4 separate regions of the Homo sapiens genome follow, and all the other regions are linked to region 3. Evidence: promoter capture Hi-C in human tissues and cell types (Jung and others, 2019). All regions are on one chromosome and are shown on one strand. Each heading gives the region's core, a stretch centred on a gene start or on the middle of the fragment in contact. The rest is flanking DNA. Distances are from core to core; before and after follow the strand shown. Region 1 holds the start of LOC124904912 (a long non-coding RNA gene). Region 2 overlaps YWHAB (tyrosine 3-monooxygenase/tryptophan 5-monooxygenase activation protein beta). Region 3 holds the start of MYBL2 (MYB proto-oncogene like 2). Region 4 has its middle 54 kb from the start of CHD6.

What was found. Contacts are between HindIII fragments. The study calls those that stand out against the background at their distance.
Region 1: a fragment that was not itself captured here is called in contact with the fragment with the promoter of MYBL2 in region 3 in 1 of the 25 tissues and cell types used here (sigmoid colon).
Region 2: a contact is called between a fragment that was not itself captured here and the fragment with the promoter of MYBL2 in region 3, in 1 of the 25 tissues and cell types used here (spleen).
Region 4: a fragment that was not itself captured here is called in contact with the fragment with the promoter of MYBL2 in region 3 in 1 of the 25 tissues and cell types used here (dorsolateral prefrontal cortex).

The regions. Positions count from the first base shown.
Region 1 is chr20:44,953,847-44,957,397 of GRCh38, forward strand. It overlaps TOMM34 (translocase of outer mitochondrial membrane 34), which reads right to left. Exons shown (of 7, transcript NM_006809.5): 2 at 2,540-2,639; 3 at 1,222-1,374. LOC124904912 (a long non-coding RNA gene) reads left to right here and starts at 1,370. Exons shown (of 2, transcript XR_007067599.1): 1 at 1,370-1,774. The HindIII fragment of the contact is 7,243 bases long and covers 1-3,551 here.
Region 2 is chr20:44,888,920-44,892,387 of GRCh38, forward strand. All of the region lies in intron 1 of YWHAB (tyrosine 3-monooxygenase/tryptophan 5-monooxygenase activation protein beta), which reads left to right. Among named protein-coding and RNA genes, the nearest start is that of YWHAB, 4.9 kb to the left of the region's middle. The HindIII fragment of the contact is 5,673 bases long and covers 1-3,468 here.
Region 3 is chr20:43,665,147-43,668,363 of GRCh38, forward strand. MYBL2 (MYB proto-oncogene like 2) reads left to right here and starts at 1,968. Exons shown (of 14, transcript NM_002466.4): 1 at 1,968-2,157. The coding sequence starts at 2,138. RefSeq lists silencers at 1,763-2,057, 1,794-2,173 and enhancers at 1,763-2,057, 2,824-2,873. The HindIII fragment of the contact is 5,433 bases long and covers 1-3,217 here.
Region 4 is chr20:41,670,594-41,674,033 of GRCh38, forward strand. No RefSeq gene overlaps it. Among named protein-coding and RNA genes, the nearest start is that of CHD6, 54 kb to the left of the region's middle. RefSeq lists an enhancer at 3,267-3,406. The HindIII fragment of the contact is 3,117 bases long and covers 72-3,188 here.

The sequences.
Region 1 (3,551 bases), core at 389-2,888, 1.3 Mb after region 3:
CAGCAAAGAGCTTTTCTCTAAAATACAAATCTGCTCATGTTGCTCCACTGCTAAAGACCTTTTCATAAAGGCTGACTTGCTCAGGATTAAGTCCAAGCCCTGAACCCTGGGTCTTGTGTGACTTGGCCTCACCAACCTGTCCCAAGCTGAGCTCCTGCCTGCAGCACCATGTGAAACCGACTTCTTACAATTCCTGTGATCTGTCACACTTGCTCACCTTTGCACACGCTGCTCTGTCTTCTGGCTAACCCCCTACCCCATATCTCTCATTCTTAGCTCACCTCCTCTGAAAAGCTCTCTCTGGCCTCCCCCTCTCCCTCTCAGCTAGCTAGGTGGCTCCTTTCTGGCCTCAGAGCCCCCTGTGCTGCCTCCTACCATGGCGCTTATCATGTTGTATTGTGCTTGCCTATTACTGACTGGTGTCTTCCTTGAGACCGGGACCTCTATGACGGCAGGAAGAGGTATGTCTCAGTCATCAGCCCAGGTCCTAGAGCAAAGTCTGTCACATAATTGGTAGATTTTGTGGAATCAGATAAGTTAAAAAGGAGGCAAAGAGAAAACAAAGAATGCTGGCAGACAAGTCAAGCCAGAAATAAAGCACTAAATACATACCATGAAGTCCCTGTTAAGGGTTTGCTATTAGTGCAGTGTTTGGCTTTCTAGCCGCACACGCAGAGGGGAAACATGATCAGTTATACAAATGACAATATCCATGAGATAAAAGCCAATAACTGCTCAGAGACCAGAAAGGAATTGCACCTGGGGAACCTCTTGGATTGGTCACAGTGCAATATACTGAACCATGTCCACAAACCATATCCTTTTAGGCTTGTCATAGCTGCTTGGGCTTGTGTCTTATTCTTCTAATTAGCGTTAGCGCTTTGAAGGTAAGTGGGGTCTGTATCTCTTTCTCATTTTGGTATCCCCCACTGAACCGGGCACAACACCTTAAACAGTGTACAATAAATATTACTGTGTACATAGATACTGTGAGGCACATGTAGGCAAATATCAATCAATCAATCTTAGTAATTGACTCCCTGAAAACCTGCTAAATAAAAAAGCAGATTTTCCTTTCTCAGCTTCCCCTACATGCCCATCGGGAGTTTTTTAAGTGTAGCCAAAGGGATCCCCTCAGAAGACAGACAAGGCAATGGCCCGCAGCCAATCAAGAAGGACAGGGAGTTGCCGTGGAGACCACCTGCTGGGAATGGAGCTCACCTGTTGATGCCTTCTACGGCTGACGTCACATTATCATCAATCTGCAGCACAGTCTTATAGTCAACATAGGCCATAGGGTACTTCTCCAGAGCCTCATAAGCAGATGCTCGCCGCAGCAGGGGCTTAATGCTGAAGGGAACCAAGGCCAGTGCTCTAGAATAGGAGGCAAAAATGTCAACTGGCTGGCTGCTGAGCCACCAGGGTTTCCCTACAGTTTCTTCCAGGCAGGGTTATCTGGAGCACTCAGCGTACAGGAAGTAATTTCTGGCCGAGAGACATGGCTAAAAACGCCAAACCTCAGAACAGGGATTTTTCAACGTAGACTGAAGTGAGGAGGAGAAAGAAGGCAGAGAAACATGAATTTTGTTAAATGTGTGTGCACATGCATCAATTTTCATAGTTTCAGTTCCCCCAAAATCAAGAACAAAAGCCTCATGGCTTTCATGCTACTATGTTTTTTTACAGTTGTGGTCTAGTGGGAATAACAAACAAGCTTTGGAGTCAGATGGGGTGGTGTCTGAATTCCACCTCTGCTGCTAACTATGTGACCCAGGTAAATCACTTTACTGCCCCAACCCTCAGCAACCAAGTTCTGGCCTGGGACACATGGTAACCGTACCCCACAGATTGGTTGTGAACACTCAAAGAGGGAAATCTGGCACAAGGCATGGCACAAATTAATTCAGCACAGGCTCTGTGAGTATGCTCACACCCCTCCTGCTCTCCTGGCTATCACCAGGGCAGGAATCTAAAGCAATGTCAGAGGACATCAGATCTGAGAACACATTTCAGGTAAATGTGAGAGTTTAATGATGATAAAAGAATATTAGACTGGCTTGAAGAAAAAGAGATATGAAACATTGTTCAGTGTCCTCTAAAACTGGTCATTCATGAATACCATTTTTTTCCTTTCTCCTTCTGAGACAATCTATTAACCTCTATTCCTCCTTCTTTCCTTCGCTCCCTTCCCCTCACATACTCCCATCCCAGAAAAGCACCTGGGCAAGCCAGTTACTGGTCTGCCACTCCACCTTATTCCCAGGTTTCAAATTGCACAAAGACTTTACGGCCTGCTTCTAACTGCCCATCCCACTCCTTTTTCGGCAGCAGAGCCAAGACTCCAAAGATGCAAGTCACGGGCCATAAGGACCAAATAAAGACTCCCATTCTCAGTGACCTGGTGAAACTCAGTGACACTTTCTTAATATCTGTCCCAGATGTAATTGATGGGATCCTTCCAAAGAAGAAACAAGCCAGATTAACCCAGCCTCCTCTTCTGAGACCCTCAGGCATCCCAAAATTACCCTTGGCCACTTACGAAGTGCAATCTTTGATGCAGTCTCTGCAGTTTCCATCCTTCAAGTGACATGCTGCTCGGTTGGAGTAGAGAACACTTTCTTCTTCTGGGTCTGAAGAACCTGCCCAGATAGAGTGGGGAAGATGATCAGTTTGGAAAATGGGTGCCTCAGGGCATTAGGATACATTTCAAACTCAGAGCTCTTTGGGCCTTGTGTTAAGGCAGTAGAGATAACTATAACCTGTTCAGGCTTGTTGGTCTGCTGGGCTGGCGTGTTTGTCATTCTTATGTGACAGAAGGACACTGCGCTTTTTGCCATTCAAAGGGAACCAAGTATTTCCTCATTCACTCATTCCAGCACTGAACTTGATAACAGACAAAAGATAAACAAGAAATAGCTAGCTTCTGCCTCAAAGAAATCCATGCTGTAACTACTTGGGTTTGGGTGGATAAATGGATGGATAGGTGTGTATTTTATTACAAAAAGCATTTAAATCCAAGAAAGAAAGAAAAAAAAAAAAAGAAAAGAAAGGGAGGGAGGGAGGGAACAAGATGATAAACGTATGATAAATGGATTGACCAAAAGTTGTAGGGGCACAAAACACCCATGAAAGACATGAGACTAGTTTTACCTGGTCAAGCCAGGGAGGACTTTGTCAGGGAAATGATAATTGAGCTGGGTGTGATGGGAGTACAGAGAACTTAATCAGGAAAAAGTCTTAAGCTACCCCATGGGGAGAATTATTAGACATTCTTCTAAGGCAGTCCTTACCCTCAGGAATCGCAGAGGCTCAAGTCCTTCACTGTGGCCACCATGATCTTTATTTACGTATTTTTTTTTGAGACAGAGTCCTGCTCTGTTGCCCAGCCTGGAGTGCAGTGGAGCGATCTCCGCTCACTGCAACTCCACCTCCTGGGTTCAAGCAATTCTCCTGCCTCAGCCTCAGCCTCCTGAGTAGCTGGGATTACAGGCACTCGCCACCACGCCTGGTAGAGACAGGGTTTCACTATGTTGGCCAAGCTGGTCTTGAAC
Region 2 (3,468 bases), core at 772-3,271, 1.2 Mb after region 3:
AAATGAGGAAATATATCTACGTAAATAGAGAGAAACTTCTAAATTAAAACATCCTGTTGTGCTACCTGCTCTTTCGGTGTCAACAAACTGAGTTTTCCTTTAAATGCTGGTACCTTAGAGAATGAACTAAAATTTCCTTGTAGAGATACTTTTAAGTTCCTTGTTTCTACATTTTTCTAGGGAAAGATGACAATTCACTAGTTAAGGGGCAAGAAATTATGGTTACATAATAGCAACCTTTAAGCTTTAGAATCCTTTTGATCTCTATGTGAATATGATCTTAGCAGTCATCTGTATTGCATGATGGAGAAACTAACGGTTGGAGCTGGATTCTGAGGGAATTTTTCTAAGGGGAATACTTGAGGAAACAGACTAAAAGTGCTTTCTGTCTCATGATATGTGTGCTGAAGGCCAATCATCTTACTGCTTTCTCAACTAAAAGATTTTCTAATAGAGGTGTGGTTATATGTATCTGATACTTGTAATGAGATGTAAATGATCAGTGGCCTCAAGTCATTCCTAGCAGATTGTAGGTTAGTTAACTTTTTTTTTTTTTTTAAATTCTGGCCAGTTCTTTATTATGTAAGTTTTTCCCGTACTGGTTAGTTTATTTTATTGTTTTCCCTAAAAGAACCAACAGGAGGTTATTTCTGAATGGCCTTGACCAGGACAAGAAGATTGAAGGCTACAATAAAGTAGATATGAGTCCTGTCTATTATTATTATTTGCCCTCAGCTAAGAGCTTTCCTTTAAAATTTGTTTGACATTTTGGTAAGTCTTTGGCATGTTTTTATGCTGTTTTTAACTCCTTGATTTTGTTTTTATTTTTAAAGCTAGATAACATTAGCTTAATAGGCCAGTTTTAAAATTTCACTGTAACAACCTTGTATAGTTCTTTTAAAAGTTGACAATTCTCTCTTTTCCTTAAGTGAGCATTGGAGTTCATAATTGATCTTTAGGAGATAGGGTTACATAAAGGAAAGAGCATTAATTTTAAAATTAATGTTGGTTTAGATCCCAGATCTGCCATATATAGCTGTGTGACCCTGAATGAGTTAACTCTTTGCATTTATAAAACGGGACAATGTCACCTGCCTCATAGGATACTTAGGATCAAATGCGTTTCTAGGAATCCCTGAGTGCTTTGCAGGCCATAAATGATGGATGGATATTTTTGTTATTTACTAAACGAGTTAGCTGGTTTGGGTTTCTGTATAGTGAACTTTTTGTATAGCGAACTGATTGGACTTCTGAATGGAGGAGATGGACAGAAAGTAATCCAAAGGCTTGTTGAAAGTCAGTTTGAATCTATAAATACAATGATTGGTAGCTGAAAAATATTAGTCAAAATGTATAGTGTTGCTCCTGATGAGAGCTGGCTGGCTTTTTTCAAAAAGTAGTCTAAGACAATAAAAACAGTCTGTATTTTATAGGTCAGATGTGTGCTACCTTCCTCTGTCCACGTAGGAAATAATTGCTTTTTCACTTTTTAAGAATGCATCAGTTGATCAAGCAGTCACTCAGTGTGCTAGGCCTTGTACTCCACATTGGGTGTCCAAAGATACAAGTCTGGATTCCTACTTTTTTTTTTTTTTTTTTTTTTTTTTGTGAGATGGAGTCTCACTCTGTCACCCAGGCTGGAGTGCAGTGGCACGATCTTGGCTCACTGCAACCTCTGAAGCCCGGGTTCAAGCAATTCTCCTGCCTCAGCCTCCTGAGTAGCTGGGATTACAGGCGCCTGCCACTGCGCCCAGCTAATTTTTGTATTTTTAGTAGAGACAGGGTTTCGCCATCTTGGCCAGGCTGGTCTTGAACTCCTGACCTTGCGATCCACCTGCCTCGGCCTCCCAAAGTGCTGGGATTACAGGCGTGAGCCACCACGCCTGGCTGGATTCCTACTTTAAGCTCACAATCCGGTGTGGGAGCCAGCAGAGACACTTGCATTGCAGTAAACTGTGATAAGGGCCATTTTAGAAATAAGCATAGGGAAATTGTTATGTGCCTTTCTTTTAAAAGTCTTTAAAGAAAGCAGAGTACGTGTAAAATAAATGAGGTACATAGTAAGTTTCCCTTCACTGGCTGACCATTGGTTTTTTAAGTTTTGTGTGGAATGTACTGTGGTTGCCATTTATTTGAGTGCTTACTGTTTTATATCATAAACAGGTTTACTCCTTACAGGAACCCTAGTAAGTAGATTTGCCTATGTTTTTTTTTTTCTTCACAGAGTCTTGCTCTGTCGCCTAGGCTGGAGTGCAGTGGCGTGATCTCAGCTCACTGCAGCCTCTGCCTTCAGGCTGCCTCAGCCTCCCAATTAGCTGGGATTACAGGCGCCTGCCACTATACCCGGCTAATTTTTTTATATATTTAGTAGAGACGGGGTTTCACCATGTTGGCCAGGCTGGTCTTGAACTCCTGACCTCAAGTGATCACCCTCCTCGGCCTCCCAGAGTGCTGGGATTACAGGCGTGAGCCACCACGCCCAGCCCAGATTTGCCTGTATTATGGATGAGAAAACAAATTCACAGAGGTCACATAGCCTGTGGACTTGGTGTGCGGTACTGGTAAATCAGACTGATAGGCTTCATTATGTCAGTGGGCCCCAAACTGTAGAAATTATTCATAAGGTCAACCAATTGGGCTGTCTTTATGGATCAGAATTAACATAGTGTCTTTTGGATTGATTACTTAAGCCAAGAAGTCAATTTATTGTCATATCTACCATTAAGTCACATGTGTAACCTTGCGCCTGTCACTTAACACCCTCAGTAAGTTTAATCATGGCTAATTGGACATAATTAGCAATGATATGCAACAGCTGATGTGAAAGAGGGAAGGGATTTTGAAATAATAGAAATGCAGTTTCTCTCCAAATTCAGTGTTCACTGGACTTAGTGCTAATGACTTTGTATTACAGATATGCTGTGTTTTGTTTCCTAACAAAGAACCTGCAAATGTTTGAATGGAATTAAATTTATTACAGGACTCTAAATTTTATATGTAGAATGGCACACAGACAGTTTTATAGTGGGTGTTTTTTAGTGAGTAGTTTTCTCTGAGAGCCAGGAGTGTTTAACTTTTTCTGGGTAACACCCACTAACCACCTGGTCCCACTGACTTTCTCAGTCCCTTCTGCAGTAGCTTGGCATCTGATTTTTCTTCAGCAGAGAGACTCCAGAACTAAAACTTCTGCTGTACAGTGCTGTGGATGCTCTATCTGGAATGGTACATCTGTGAATGCTGTTCAGAATATGTGATCAGTTCCTTACCCCATTGAAACATTCGAGCCTAGATTTTTCAGATTTTCTTGTCAGTTTTCTTCCTTATTCTCATTTCTTTATCTGCTTTGGCCTTTGATTTTTATCTCATCTAGAAAAACATACATGCACTTTATTAATAACATCTCTTTTTAAGTCACGACCTAGCTACCTTTAAACCTATTTCCTCTAGTTCTGTCTGGTTGGCTTTCTA
Region 3 (3,217 bases), core at 718-3,217:
CTGGACTGTCCCCAGGTGGCCAGCAGCTTCTGGAAGGGGGCTCTGAGGCCTGAACAGGGGCTAAAAGGCTGGGGTTTGATTTGGTTTCTTCAGCGTCCTGTCTCAGAGCTCATTTATCTTCCTCTCAGCACTGCTCCCAGGAAGTCCAGTGTGACTTGATCCTTGGTACTTGGTAAATGTCAATCTAATATAGAAAACCTTTGCTAAATCTCAAGGAAAGACAGTCTCACTGTCTGTCGCCCAGGCTGGAGTGCAGTGGCGGGATGACAAGGGCTTGAGCCCCTCGAACTCCTGGGCTCAAGCAATCCTCCTGCCTCTGCTTCCCAAGTAGCTGGGATTACAGGCATTCACCACCACAGCCAGGTAATTTCTTAATTTTTTGTAAAGACAGGGTCTCACTCTGATCCCCAGGCTGGTCTCAAACTTTTGGACTGAATCAGTTCTCCCACCTCGGCCTCCCAAACTGCTAGGATTACTGGCATGAGCCACTAAATCTGGGCTAATCTCTGGGAGTTTAAACCCAAGGTAAACAATTCAATGCAACAAACCTTTGCCTGGGGCTTCTTATGTCAGGTCTTCTACTGGGCCCTGGAGATACTGGTGTGCATTGAGAGGCCACCTGGACCTCAGGATGCTCCCAGTTCAAAGGGGGAAATGCAGAAGTCTACAGGCAGATTGTGGGCAGTGGACCCCAAATTAAATAGGAATCAGCCACGTGGGAGGGGCAGGAAGTGTTCCTGCCCTGGGTAATGGCTCAGGCAAAGGCAAAGAGGCCGTTTCTTTTGGCCAGGGCTGGGTGGTGGTCTGGAAGATCAGATAAATGTGATTGTGGAGTAAGGAATTTACCCTGAGGGAGAGGAGGATGGTTTTAAATTCTGGAAAGAGCTCACGCCTGCAATCCCAGCACTTTGGGAGGACAAAGCGGCAGGATCTCTTGAGCCCAGGAGTTTCTAGACCAGTCTAGGCAACAGCAACATAGCAAGACACCCCCTTCTCTTAAAAAAAAAAAAAAAAGCGCAGTGGCTCACTCCTGTAATTCCAGCACTTTGGGAGGCCGAGGCGGGCGGATCACGAGGTCAGGAGACCTATACCATCCTGGCCAACATGGTGAAACCTCGTCTCTACTAAAATACTAAAAAAAAAAAAAAAAAAAAAAAAAAATTGCCGGGCGTGGTGGTGTGCGCCTGTAGTTCCAGCTACTTGGGAGGCTGAGGCGGGGGAGTCGCTTGAACCCGGGAGGTGGAGGTTGCAGTGAGTCAAGATCGCGCCACTGCACTCCAGCCTGGCGACAAAGCGAGACACCGTCTCAAAAAAAAAAAAAAAAAAAATCAGCCGGGTGTAGTGGCGAGTGCCTGGTCTTAGCTACCCGTGAGTTGAGGTAGGAGGATCGCTTGAGCCTAGGAGGTGGAGGTTGCAGTGAGCTATGATCGCGAAACTGCACTCCAGCCTGGGCGACAGAGCAAGACCCTGCCTCTAAGAAAAATGAACAACAAAAAATAAAGTCTATTAAGGAGGGTCTCTTGGAGGCAGGAGAGGAAGCAGGGAGAGGCACAGGTAGGGTGAGGAGCCGCTTTAGGGTGCGGCTCTAGGGACCCAGTAGTGGCTTGGACTAGCGTGGGGGATTCCGCCCTGGCGCTTTCCCTGGCTGGCTCTCCCATGCTCGCGCCTCGCTCCCCTTCCTCGGTCTTCGCTATGTGGGATACTCCTGGGCCGCCCCGGACTGACACGTGAGCCAGGCCTCGGTCACATCCCGGCCCGCTCCACAACTCCGAAGTAGCGGCCGCCGCCCCTGTCCTGCAGCCGGCCCTGGAGGGTCTGGGCAGGTGCCGCCCCGCAGGCCCCGCCCCGCCCCGCCCCCTGGCTCCGCCCCTCACTCAGGCCCCTCCCCCGGCGCCCGCGCGCCAGGACTGGGCGGCGCCGACGCGCTTGGCGGGAGATAGAAAAGTGCTTCAACCCGCGCCGGCGGCGACTGCAGTTCCTGCGAGCGAGGAGCGCGGGACCTGCTGACACGCTGACGCCTTCGAGCGCGGCCCGGGGCCCGGAGCGGCCGGAGCAGCCCGGGTCCTGACCCCGGCCCGGCTCCCGCTCCGGGCTCTGCCGGCGGGCGGGCGAGCGCGGCGCGGTCCGGGCCGGGGGGATGTCTCGGCGGACGCGCTGGTGAGACGAGCCGGGAGGGCTTGGGCCCCTCCCCCTCCCTTTAACTCACCCCTCCCCCACCCAGATACCCCCGACCCTCCCCAGGCTCCCACCAAGCTGGGGTGTGTGTGTGTGTTGGGGGTGGGGTGTTTCCGCGGAAATGCTGCGTCCTGGGCCCTCTGAGGCAGGGGCGCGCGTAAAGCTGGGGGGCTCTTGGGCGTCCCTCGCGGCTCCCCAGGCCTGTTGGGCCTCGGAGCTGGGACGGGCGGGTCTCTTGGGACCCGGGCCAAGCCGTGCATGATGTCATTTTGTCTCCCGCCTAATTGCGGGATGGGGGTGGGCCGGCCGGTGTCAGCTGGCAGGGCCTTCGCCGGCGAGGGAGGCGACCCCTGGGAGCGAGAGGGAGTCTTCAAGTCCCAGCCAGTGGGAGACCGAGCCTGGGAGGCACTTGTTGCAGCCTAGTTTTGGGTCAACTTGGTGGGTGGGCTTTGCTCCTTAACATTCCGGGGAGCACAGAGTCCCCCAAGCCCTCTCCCCTGGACTGAGAAGGGTGCTGAGTTGGGGGCTCTTTTGTCTCTCCCACCTGGGTTCCGCGCCCCAGCTTGGTTCGGTTTGAGACCTCTCTTCCTGTTCCCACGAGGAGTTTTGGGCAGCTGGGGTTGAAGGTGCGGGGGAGAGAGAGAGTCCCTGGGGCAAAGGCAGGAACTGCGGTCTCCATTTTACTTATTTCCCCAGAGACTTAAGTGGCAGAGCTGAGCCCGGAGCCAGGTCTGTGGCTCCAGATCCCTGTCTTACACCTGTGCGCCTGGGGCCTGAGCTCCAAGCTTTTCAGCCTGCCTGGGAGACAGGACAGTGGGGTCCTGACCTCTTCCCTGCCTGGATCGCTGCAGCTCAGATAACCTTCGTTCCCTCTTTTTTTTTTTTTTTTTTTTTTTTGAGAAGGAGTCTCGCTCTGATGCCCAGGCTGGAGTGCAGTGGCGCGATCTTGGCTCACTGCAACCTCCGCCTCCCAGGTTCAAGCGATTCTCCTGCCTCAGCTTCCCGAGTAGCTGGGACTTCAGGCACGTGTCACCACGTCGGG
Region 4 (3,440 bases), core at 380-2,879, 2.0 Mb before region 3:
GGTGGGTGTGGCATGCTCATGGTGGATAATGTCCTTCGGTGGCTCAGAGTTTCTGCTGCCACGGACTGAGTTCAGTTCGGTGGCTCAGAGTTTCTGCTGCCACGGACTGAGTTCAGTTGGAGGATTGCTTTGCTTTTCCATCCCGCTCTTCTGTTCTGCACTGCAGCATCCCAAGCAGCCTTTTCATTGGATACCCTTGCCCCAAACCTCACACCCACACAGTCTGTGTGAGCAGCAGCCTTGCTGAAGGCTCGGTGCAACAGACAGCTTTCACACCCTGCCCAGCCCTTCTCCACCACACACTCCCAGCTCCCTCCTCTCCTTACCACTCCAGGTTCCCTTCAGAGGCCCAGTTCTCTGCCTTGAATTTAAAGAAGCAGTTGAAGTCTCCATCCTTTCCTCACCTCGGAGTCTACCTTGTTACACTCACAGCATCCTTAACGTGACTGATAAACAAAGGGCTACCTGGTTTTTCAATTTTTTAGTAGCAATGAACCAGCAAGGACTCTGAAATAGGAGGCTGTCTTAGGTTGAGTTTTTGGAAGCAGACTCTGAGAAGAGGATTCCTATAAAAATTATTTATTTAAGAAGTGTTCCTAGAAAAAACCAGTTGGGAGTGGGCGGGAAAGTGGGACCAGGAGAGAAAGAAGGCCAGGCAAAGGAACGGCAGCAGGCAGAGTCCGGGGAGGGCTGCTTTGGCTCAGTCTCTCCTGGGAACTCAGCAGACACCTTCCAGTTACCCCCACCAGGGAGCAAGAGCTGGAGGATTGTATTCGTATGTTTGTCAGTCACTTGTTAAGGGCTGTCCCAGGGGTATGTTAATTTCCAGGCTCTTCACCAAGAGATGCAGGTGCAGGCTGTTGGGTGTGAAGGCGCATGGGAAGCTGGTGGACACAGTAAATGGTCCAGGGATCTAAAGGGGCTATGGGCGAGGCACCAACAGTGTCTGCCGTAAGTCTTTCCTTCTTCCCTCCCTTACTCAACTTCATGAGTGGAAAGACAGTTGTGTGAACAATTTCCTCACTGATGTGGGTTCTGCCACTCTGTAGAAAACAAAAGCAGCTTGGTCAGGTGAGGTGGCGCACATCTGTAATCCCAGCACTCTGTGGGGCTGAGGTGGGAGGATTGCTTGATGCGAGGAGTTCAAGACAAGCCTGAGCAACATAGGGAGAGCCCATCTCTACAAAAAGTAGAAAAAAAAAATAAATTATCCTGGTGTTGTGGTGAGCACCTGTGGTCCTAGCTACTTGGGAGGCTGTGGCAGGAGGATTGCTTGAGTCCAGGAGGTGGAGGCTGCATTGAGCTACGATAGTGCTACTGCACTCCAGCCTGGAAAAGAGAGAGACCTGTCTCTAAAAAAAAAAAAAAGCAACAGCTATACTGGAGCTGGCTTGCTTACTCAGGAGGACAAGAGCTACTCCAGGCCCTTCTCCCATTTTCTGACTCCTGTCTGGCATGACTTATCTCTCAGGATGACTGCAGCTTGGGCATCAGAAGAAAGGGGTGAGCATTCACATCAAATCAGGGGTCCGTTCCTCAGAAATTCCACGTGGAGTTGCTCAGCTCCCCTTCTAGATGGGGGCTTCTCTGGTTATCTCTGAGAAAATGCCCCAACCCCACGTCACAGAGCCCTGGGTGCACAGGAGCTACCACACTGTCCTCATTCAGAACCTGCCCTATCTGCCCTGAGTTTGCTAGATGCAAGGGAGCAGGCAACTTATCCTGTTTGAGACACAGCTCTCCTGTTTGGGGCTCTCTGCCCCACACTGGAAGCAAGGTAGCGGGTGTAGTCATTAACCAAGTCCTGCCCTTTTGGGGATCCCTCTGACTGGGGATGGGAAATCTGCTGTTTTCCTCCTTCAGGAACTCAACCTCAGGTCCTGGAGTCATGTCCACCTTGACTCCGGGAGTCCGAGCTGGGGCTGCTATTGTGAACTCTGCTATGCTGGGCTATTTCTCAATAGCACTCAAGATTGCCTCCCTCTCCTTCTTCCCCAGCCTTAACTCCAGTAATGAGGGAATGATGTGGGAGAGGTTTATCCAGATCTTGGCAATCAATGCTTTTCCAATAGACTTTTGCTTGCTCTGAGCTGGATTCTCTTTCCCCAGTTCAACAGCACCTTCCTTAGCTGCTTTTTGTGAAAGTGTCACTGGTCAGAACACACATGCAGACAATTCCTCTTGACTTGCCACATAACTGAATATTGACTGTGTCAGGCAGTCGGCCAGTGGTATGGAGGCCCCTGAAAACCAGAGGCTGCTGCAGACATCGAGTGAGGCCCACAGACTGCCTGCAGTTTCTTATGCTTCTCCCCTCAGGTAGTTGCCCACCTTCTAACATCTCTGCCTCATGGGTAGCGACATTAAAAACATATGCCTTTATATCTTCTTTCTCTCAAAGCCTCAAAATGACAGTGGAGAAATGATAACAAATAAAACCATAAATGTATAAGGACAAAGAGTTTTAGAGAGGATATAGAAATAGATCATGAATGTCAAGAAAATTTTGGAAGGTGATCAATTAAGTCAGTGGTAATTTACTTAGAAGAGCAGAGAAAGTTAAAATTTAAACCTAAAAAGGGGGGTGGTACCCAGTGAAAAGAAGCTAGAAGATTTTTTACTGAAGTATCCCTATTGAAATATCCCTGAAGATGGGGATGAGTGTGATGGACCAGTTAAAAAGGAATTATTTAGGCAGATAGTAAGGGTAAGGAAGTCCTCGGTAAGCTTTTCCTTTTAATGAAAAGCAGCCTCCAAATCATTTTCTTTTCTAACAAAGAGCAGCCAGTAAAATCAAGCTGCAGACATAGAAAGGCAGGCTAGAAGCTTGCATGGGTGAATGCTGGCCATTGTGGCAATAGGAAAGGGGCTACCTGGGGACCAGGTATGTTCAAAATGATGACTCCATCTTCCCTTTTGCTTGCCAACCACGTGTGCAGTCGGGAGCAGACAACATGGCCCCGGGCAGACAAAGACTCCATTTGCATAAAGAAGATTAGGGTGGGGTGGCCGGCTTCCCCACATGCGATATAAACATCACACTTGGTCCAACCAACCTTAGGGCCCTTTCTAAATCAGACACCGCTTCCTCAAGCCTGCCTATGAAACCCTGTGCACTCCGCCGCAGGCCAGAAGTTCCGCTTGGGCGCCTCTCTCTCTTGCAGAAGAGAGAGCTATTTTCCTGTCTCTTTCTTTTGCCTATTAAACCTTCACTTTTTTTTTTCTTTTTTGAGACGGAGTCTTGCTCTGTCGCCCAGGCTGGAGTGCAGTGACGCCATCTCTGCTCACTGCAAGCTCCGCCTCCCGCCCGGCTAATTTTTTTGTATTTTTAGTAGAGACGGGTTTTCACCGTGTTAGCCAGCATGGTCTCGATCTCCTGACCTCGTGATCTCCCCGCCTCAGCCTCTCAAAGTGCTGGGATTACAGGCGTGAGCCACTGC